Linked DNA regions of Homo sapiens: region 1 is linked to region 2. Evidence: promoter capture Hi-C in human tissues and cell types (Jung and others, 2019). All regions are on one chromosome and are shown on one strand. The core of a region is centred on a gene start or on the middle of the fragment in contact, and the rest is flanking DNA. Distances in the headings are between cores, read along the strand shown.

What was found. Contacts are between HindIII fragments. The study calls those that stand out against the background at their distance.
Region 1: a contact is called between a fragment that was not itself captured here and the fragment with the promoter of CYP39A1 in region 2, in 1 of the 25 tissues and cell types used here (heart right ventricle).

Annotation. Positions count from the first base shown.
Region 1 is chr6:46,137,808-46,142,493 of GRCh38, reverse strand. It overlaps ENPP4 (ectonucleotide pyrophosphatase/phosphodiesterase 4), which reads right to left. Exons shown (of 4, transcript NM_014936.5): 2 at 2,085-2,943; 3 at 1,272-1,442. The coding sequence starts at 2,910. Among named protein-coding and RNA genes, the nearest start is that of ENPP4, 10 kb to the right of the region's middle. The HindIII fragment of the contact is 4,639 bases long and covers 1-4,195 here.
Region 2 is chr6:46,650,631-46,655,476 of GRCh38, reverse strand. CYP39A1 (cytochrome P450 family 39 subfamily A member 1) reads left to right here and starts at 2,659. Exons shown (of 12, transcript NM_016593.5): 1 at 2,659-3,071. The coding sequence starts at 2,895. It overlaps SLC25A27 (solute carrier family 25 member 27), which reads right to left and starts at 2,502. Exons shown (of 9, transcript NM_004277.5): 1 at 2,179-2,502. The coding sequence starts at 2,284. RefSeq lists silencers at 2,065-2,164, 2,595-2,684 and enhancers at 2,345-2,474, 2,705-2,754. The HindIII fragment of the contact is 4,112 bases long and covers 702-4,813 here.

The DNA of each region.
Region 1 (4,686 bases), core at 627-3,126, 510 kb after region 2:
CATATATTAGAAAAAAATATATATTTTTCTATATATAATATATAATATATTCTACATATATATGTAGAAAATATATATTATAATTATATGTAATTATATATTATATATAATATATAATATACATTATATATATTATATATATTACATATAATTATATTACATATAATATATATAATATAGATATATATTAGAAAAGAATATATATATGAAAAAAGATTGGATGGGGAGAAATGTCCACAATTAACATTTGCCTATAAATCCATACTGAGGGATTATGGATAGTTTTTGTTCTCTTTCCTATGCTTTTCTATACTTTCGGTTGTCAACAACAAATATGCAACATAACATTGATGTAAATAATATACAAACTTCATTGATTCTGAGTCTGTCCTATGCTTGCCTGATACTTCTAAATTGCTATATATCAGGGAACTGTAAACTACAGCCCATAGCGAAGGTTAGCCCTCCATCCTTTTTGTAAACAGAGTTTCACCGAAGCACACCACTTCAATTTCTTTACAGGTTGTCTATGGCTACTTTTACACAATAAAGGCAGAGTAGAGTAGCTGAGACAGAGACCAGCTGGCCCACAAAGCCTAAACTATTTTCTATTTGGCCCTTTACTAAAAAAGTTTGCTGACCCCTACCATAGACCACAAAATTAGATTTTAAAAAAAGCATTTGAATTGAATATGAAATATGGATAAATAAGCTTCAGTTTGAGGCAAGCCTGTAACTCACCCCTATACATTTTCTCCCCTATATATTTTTTAGGAGAGATTTTGATGTATCTATTTTGTTCACTTGGTGGATTTGTTTGGTTACTTTCTGGTTCTTGCCCAGTGTTCTAAATAGCTGTAGCATTCAGGTAAATGATTTTGTTACTGGGGAAGACTTAGGGTTACTCAGACAAATTTTTTTTAACACACAAAAGAACAAGGATTAGCTAATCTCTCCCCTTTTACTGTTTCTTTACTTCTCTATTTTGTATAAATCAAGAGAATGAATCTTGAAAATTACTGACAGTAATTGCAGTTTTGGAAAGAAAGTAGGACTTTGCCTTCACTCTTAAATTTACTTTCTAATTTAAAGGTGAAATTGTGATTACTGTAAATTGCTATTAAATGAAGACCTGGGAATTATCTGGTTGAAAATTGAACTAATTATTCTGTGTGAACTTCTTTAAATCGAAGTACCCTCTTAACACAACAGTATCACAAGGTATGATTTGTTCCTAGGATACAACAGAAATATCTCAACTAAATACTTACATTTTTGTGATGATTCATTTAGCACAATTGTCCAGCCTTCATCGGCAACCAAAATAATGGGCTGAATTCGATCATTATGTTGGTAATAAAATCTGTTAGGAATGTCTTCTTTGAGATAAACATTCATATGAGGGCTACAGTTTTTCAGTTTGTTATAAACCTCTGTTCTATCTGAGAAAAAAAAAGAAACAGCAAAGGAAACAAGTTATGATTGATAAGGAAAAAATATGTCTAACTAGAATAATTGGAAGTAAATTATAGATAATGTCATCTATTAAATCACTTCTTAAAAAAACAGAGCAATAATAATGTGAGAGTGTTGGGGACTGATACACACAAACACACACCTTTCTCAAACATTAACAAATCTGTTTCACTTTGTGGATTACCATGGTGGACTTTTACAGATAGGGGACATTTTTCAGGTGTATCTTCCTAAGTAAACATAAACTAATTACATGTTACTACTAACTACTACTTCTATGATCAGTAGAAGAAAGTACCTCACCACTAAATATCACACACTAAAATCTAAGATGTTTAAGGATAAAAATTTCCTTTTTCTAGTGCAAATAATTAGATATATCAAAAGCAAAGAAATACTCACTTTGAAACTAAACCATAAGCCATATAACTAAACCATAGGCCAACTGCTCTCAACTTGTAAACAAGAGGAAAAAAACATATAATCCCACTCTGAGTATATGGTTCTAAACTACAAAAAGCTAGAGCTTCATTCTTTTATACAACCCACCCCCCTCAATCAATTGCCCCATTCGAATAATAGTATCCCTCAGTTGAATGTTTACTTACTTATTTTGGGAAGTATTGCAGCAACTGGGCTCAAATCTATAAGAGTGTAGTATGAATGATCGATGCAGGAATCCAGGTTTATCAGTCTGTCCTGAGAACACTGGGTCATCCCATGATCACTTGTAATGATCACATTAAGATTTTCCCATAGCCCTAACATCTTGAGTCTTTGGACTAAGTCACCGATAAGATCATCTATTTTTTTCAACACTCTGCTCATGTTTTCTTTATCTTCAGGTCCGTATTTGTGGCCACTTGCATCTGGTTCTTCCCAATATAGTGTTGCAAAGGTGACTGGTGGGTTCGAATTGTTTAGCCACATAGTAATATTATTTAGTCTTTCCTCAAATGACACTGAGGAGTTGTAATTCATAAAATAGGAAGAGATGGTATCGTGAATGGGTACATCAGTACCAGGCCACATAGCAGCAGCACTTGATCTGTTTTCCTGAAGCTGATTGGTCACCCAAATAGGTACTGCCTCATTCCACCAAAAAGGATCCTTGTCATTAGAGTCAGAAAAGTGTTTCTTTGTGACTGCATCATACATGGAATTAGCCACAATGCCATGGCTTTCTTCATACAAGCCTGTCACAATACTGTAGTGGTTTGGAAATGTTTTTGTGATAAAAACATTTTTAACATGCTCTACCAAAACACCTTCTTTGATAAAATTCTGGAGATGAGGAAATTCATAGTTCTTCAGATAATCAGCTCTGAAGCCATCAAAGGATACTAGTAGTAACTTAGGTGGCAAACTAGAGGAAGAGTCACTTCTAAAACCAGTTATAAGTCCAGAAAACAAAAGTATTACTAATAACTTCATAATGAACACGTTGAAGGACAGCAATCAGGGTTCCTAAAATGTAAAAACACAACTCATAAGTAGTAATTCTATTTCATTTGGGTTAAGTTTTAGAATTTTAGCCCACAGGAGGAGAGAACCAACATTTATATGCCAGCTTTACCTATATTAACTTAAATAATACCATTTATTTAAAAATAACTAAAAGCTAAAATTGGAAAAAAAATTGTCTTGTCCAATTTCCTATTTATATATATGCCCTACTCTATCCTTCATATGGGCCATTTTTATACTCCACATCAATACTCCTTCTAGGCTGTCAGCTCATTTGCCACATTAGAAATTCTTCGAAAGGCTTAATAAAAATAGATGCAGACACTAAAATGATTCTTTTGTAAAACATAACGTTAATGCCAAGCTTTCAGAGGCTCCAGAGATGATGATTATTTTTCCAGTTTAATAAATTGTACTTTATAGTTTCTTTAACCCACAGAAATAATTGGTGGAAATTCTACCATATTGGTTTATTGCCAGTTCTTGTTGAAAATATTGCTATAAAAAAGGGGGAATAAGAAATAAATGCTATTGAGAAAAAAGCCCCCATCAGTCTGTATGTGCCCCAATAGTCACATGAAGTTGATTAACAAACATGCAAAGCCTACATGGACATGGATGCTCCAGTAACTTATGAAGAAATCCAATAGCTATTGAAATGAGTTTTATTACCACATCCCTCTTAAACTTCCTTTTAGCTATCAACAACTATTTTCACTAATACCCTAGGCTTAAAGCTATCTCTGATTTTTTGTTCTTTCTTTAAATCAATTCACTGATGACAAAAACAGCTTTTCCCTAATAAATCTCCCTGCCTTTGCTCTCTATCTTCTTTGGTCTCTAAGAAAATAGGACATGTGAGTGAGGTAAAATGATTCACTTCAGATGGACAGGATGCCTCTTCCATTGTAACAGGAGAGAAGGAGCAAAGGTAGGGGAGCTGACAGATTTGAGGGCTGGAGGTGAAGAGAGTTGCCGGAGGTAGGGTCAATTATTGACAGGGAGTAGAATGGTAAAAGGTTCAGAGGTTTGAGGAACAGAAAGAATGTCTGAAATAGTTAATGTGGAAGATGGGAGAAAGTGTGAGTAAACAGTAGAACTGGAGTCAATGTTGACAGCTGTCATGAATTTTCATAGTGACACAGTTGACTGGTTTTCTCTAGCAACTCAGTAAACCTGGCACAGGCATGAACAAAACAGGCAGCTGATCCTACCTGGATTTGAGATTCTGCCAGAAACTGAAGGAAGACAAAGGAAGCTGAAGATGCTAACTAAAGAGCAGCTGAAATTGGGGCTGCAGCATCTAAGCTGAAACTGACAGATGTAAGTAAGAAGTAGAGAAGTTTTTCAACTAGAGGTTCTGGTGAAGTCAAAGAACTAATGAAGATTAGTTAAGAGTAACTTTTAGTGAAAGTTACAAAGATCTGGGATTGCAGTTAGAATGCAACAAGTGAATGCATTATTTCAGACTAAGAAGACCCTGAACATGGTAACGGGTATGCATGTTGAGGTCCCAGGTATGAAGAGCAGCAAGTTAACTAATATGATTATGAAGTTCAGGAGTCATTTATTGTGTATTCTCTCAAGTAGACTGGAAACACTTTCTCTCTTTCTTTCAAACATGCCACCTGGAGGATCTGCGTACTTGTGGTCAAATACTGACAGAGGCTGTGATCCTCTGAAAAACTGACTTAAAATTAGGAAGACCAAAGGCACAGAATCTGATTTATGAGGATCTTGGGG
Region 2 (4,846 bases), core at 1,410-3,909:
AACTTTAATATCTGTTAGTCATTAATTTTTGCTTTTCAATGGGAAATAATTTAAAGTACCATATTGTGTGCTATCCTCTTGACTGCAGCCATGATTATTTGAGATCTAATGTAACATTAGAATACTGCACTATATATTCTTATGTACTATAACAAATGCTAGATGAAGCTGAACTCTATAATTTCGTGGGTGATGTTCACATGCAGATGAATGACTGACATAATGTTTGAGATACAGAAGATGTAATGGAGTTTATAATGTTGTCTTTTATATGCAAGGGTCATAAGCTCAATATCCTTTCAATTAAAGCATATATGGAATTATTTTTCCAGCACTAAATTATATGCATCGCCTACTCATGGCCTCCTTACAAGTACTAACTGTATTTTGGAAAAATTTTTTGGTTTTAAGTTTTAAATTAGATACAGACCTTTTACCTTAATACAGTTAAGCTAAACGGCCTACATAAGGAAGATAGAGCTCATAACCTTATACAGAAAACGTCCTGAATAATTAAAATAATAACATTCAGACAAGTTCATGAACATTACTTACATTATATAAGACTTTTCAATGACCACCACCTGACACAAAACCTTAGTATACCTTTTCCAAGAGAAAACAATGTGGGGAAGGGAAGTGAATATTAAATCTTACCACTGGTTTTTGGAAAAGTTAGTATCTTGCTGACAGTTTCCCTAGAACAGAAGTAGCTTGCATAGACTTCAAGCAATATTTTATTGACATATGAAACCTGAAAAATCTTAATAGATTTCTCCATATTACACAGATTATGTCTTTCAAAATAAGTTTTGTTTTCTCGCTGGTTTGTTAAATGATGCTTCAGGTTCCTGAAGTGGTTTGTACTTAAAACCATCCCACATTTTGATTCCCATCCATTCTCCACACACAATTCTCTCCATGAATTTTTAACGAGGAATAGTCCTGTATAAAAGCCATTGAGTCAGAGGGGGACACATCAATTAAAAATAAAACCTGGAAATATCATTCAGCAATCTGCTTTTAGATCTTTTTAAGCTGATGAATTTTATTTCAGTAAAAACAATGAAAAGTAAAAATTCTCCATCATTTTCGAAAGGAGAGACATTAAAAAATAGAGGGGCTAAAAGGCAAAAATGGAAGAGCACGAAACAACTGATCATGGCTGGCTATGCTAGAATTAAAAAATAAACTCTTAAAATAGGACCAACTAACATTTACAAATGATAACGCATCAGAACTGTTCTTTTTATTTTTTTGTAACAGGCAAGAAAATGTAAGGGTAATCTTAAAATACACAGTTAAGGCTTCACAGGAAACACATGAGTATACTACTCACAAAATCCTTGGAATAAACGCTACTTGCTCATTCAAGGGCATCATCATTCCACTCTAGATGGCCTCTTAAAGTTTTTTCTTACTCATGTAGGCAGATGTAACTGCTCTTCTATGCTTTTATGACACCTAATAATATCTTCATTATAACAAGTAGCACATTATAATTGTCTTTCTCTGTCTCCCCAGCAGCCTGTAAGAAGGTCAGAACTGGGTCTTTTCAAATATATATCCACAGTCCCTGGTATTGTAGGAATTATAAAAATGTCGCAACTAATGGGTGTCCTGCCTTGGGTTTAGCAATCATATATTATTGACTTCTCAGAATCCTGCAAGGTAAACAGTATAGATGAATTACACTCAAAGAGGTCAAGTAGTCGATGCTCTGTGAGTGGCAGGTTAATAACGGAAGTCCCACAAGGTAGGTCCACAACTTGGACCCACAAGATAATGACAGTGTGGCTGTGTAAGACTATAAACCACAGAGATGATCTCAGTAAGGATGGAAAACAGATTACGTTTTTAAAAAGGTCATCCTCATGAAAAGGAAAATGATTCCTACAGAGGAATGACAGCTCGCGAAGCTTCTTAAAGTACAACATTCAAGCACCACAGCACATGCCTAAGGGAAGCATTAGAAGAGATTAGAAGGAAAAGGCCGTGGAGACCTCAATCCCTCCTCCTCCCACCGCGGGCCTGGCCTCCACCGCCACCTCTGCCAGGCGGGCATGGAAGGGGCGACCTCTCCGATGCGCACTGCCGGGCGCGAAGCCGCCCGCGCACCCTCCCCCAGCGCGGCGCGTGCCACTGGCCCGGGAGGCCCAGGCGTGGGCAGCCGGGTACCTAGCTCGGCCACGGTAGCCGCGCAGCCGGACAGTAGGAATTTGCTCGCTCGGGGCCATCTCTGGGTCAGCGGCAAAAGCCTCTCCTCCTCCTCCGGGACGGACATTCAGCAGTAGCGCAAGACGATAACGCACTCCTTCTCGCCGCTGCGCTGCACCGCGCCGCGGCGGCCGCTTCCCTGCCAGGGCGGCCCCTTTTCAACCGGCGAGTGGCCGGGTGAGGACCATTTCCCTCGTTCGGCTCGGCCGGGTGGACCCGCAACCTTCCTAGCAGTCCCAGCTGGAGTGGTCCAGCTGCCCCTTACACCCCAGAATAGAAAAACACAGCGGAGCCCAGGAGGTTACTGGGCAATGTAGTCCGCCGGGCTCCGCTACGTCTCTGATTGGCCGGCCGCGGGTCCCTCTGCGGCTCCGCCCCCGGCCTCCATGGCAACGCGGCTGGTTCTCGCCCGTCAGTCCTAGCCCGGCCCTGCCCCTCCTTGCATTTTTTCCGCGCTGGCTGAGATTCAAAGAGAAGTGGAGGTGGGAGGGAGCGACAATGGAAAAATCACCTGAAAACTGGGACAGAGGAAGGAAGCTACAGTTACGAAGGAGAGCTGCAAAAGTTGCAGCAGAAAGGTTGGGAGTCCCGACAGGTTCCGTAGCCCACAGAAAAGAAGCAAGGGACGGCAGGACTGTTTCACACTTTTCTGCTTCTGGAAGGTGCTGGACAAAAACATGGAACTAATTTCCCCAACAGTGATTATAATCCTGGGTTGCCTTGCTCTGTTCTTACTCCTTCAGCGGAAGAATTTGCGTAGACCCCCGTGCATCAAGGGCTGGATTCCTTGGATTGGAGTTGGATTTGAGTTTGGGAAAGCCCCTCTAGAATTTATAGAGAAAGCAAGAATCAAGGTATGTGGTCGTGGCAGACGGGGTCTCCAGAGGAGACAATGCTTTCTTTTTTAAACTTTCTTTCATTGACTCTTAAGTGCAGGGCTAGAACACGGGGAACATACCTGCTTGCCTCAACTAAAGGATCTAGTCATTTCTGAATTCCTCTACTAACAATTAACAACAATATCCTGTGCAAAATTTTGCGAAAGAAATGAAATACAATTGCAGCGTGCATCGACATTTTTGGAAGTAGAGATTAACTTTTCGTATTTTTACTTCATCGAAGTTAAGTTCCAAATGTGTATGTGTTAAGTAAATGTTTTCAGTAATTGGGAAAGATAAAGTGTAATCCAATTTAAGTTTGTGAAAATGAGTAATTCGTATCCAAATTGGAGTTAACACCAAAGTATTGTACAAATTGCTTGCACAGTTGGTCCGTACACAATAAACAGGCTCTGTATTTTTAGCTGACGTTGTTATTTGATGATGATGTACTCCATTTTCACTACGGCCTGAAGAGACTAGTAATCCTCCTTGTAGTAGATGTTTTTGTCTTGAAAGTATCTTTTAAATGTCTGAGCACTTTAAGGAACAGACCTTTATTAATGTCTTTTAAGTTTTATTCAATTTCCAGTCACAAATATTTTATGGTATTTGATTGTCTAATAAATTTGTATGATATTATAATTATTCTTATGAATTATAATACTTTCTGTGGTGACCCATTTTCCATCTGGTTAGCCCAATTTGTAGAATGAATTTATACGTAGTAGCATTATTTTACCACTGATCATTTGCCTTCAAAATCTCTGAGATTCCAATTTAGTAAAAAACATATAGAAAATTAAAGAGAACTAAGATGAAAATAAAAATAACCCAGAATATCACACCAGCTGTACTGTAAAAATTTAGTGTATTTATATTATTTTGGTCATTTTCCTATGTATTTACAACTATTTAATGAACAACAATGGAATAATAGTATAATACTCTTTTATGTGCTTTTGATTTTAACATATAATGTGAATGACTTTCCTGTACCATGAAATACTTTGAATCTTCCTTTTATGGCTATATTTTGTCATAGGAGGATACAATAGTTTACTTAAATCTCAATAGTTGGGTTTATAGGTTGCTGCCAAACTTTTTTCTTTCAGCCAGTGCTTCAGTGAACATTCTTGCGTGTTTGTGTGCATGTATTGATTGTGTGGTTGTACATTTTGCAATTATCTGATTGTTTACTCAGAATAAATTCCTAGGAGTAGAATTGCTGAGTCAAAGGACATGCACACTTAAATTGTTTATATGAATGTGTTACTTTTGGAAAAAGAAGTATGAATATGCAATTTTTATTTTCCATTGACTGTATGCAATTGCCTAACTTCTCAAATCCTGGGCCATACTGAATACCATAATTCTTTGCAATTTTTGCTAGTCTGATAGATGAAACATTATATCTCCTAAAGAAATACTCCTTTGTCTCCCACAGCCTTCCTTATGCATATGATCTTGATAATTTTTAAGGAACTGTTTTTTTACAAGCTTGTGTCAGAAGGCTAAATATTTGTGAGGTCTCTATTGCTTTCCTGACTAAACAAAACAAGTTATTGCTGGACTCTGTGTCTCACACCTGTAATCCCAACACTTTGGGAGGCAGGGGTGGGAGGATTGCTTGAGGCCAGGAATTTAAGACCAGCCCGGGAGATATAGCAAGACCTCATTTCTACAAAAACTAAATAGAAAAATAAAAAATTTAATCTGGTCCAGTGGCACATGCCTGTAGTCCCAGCTCC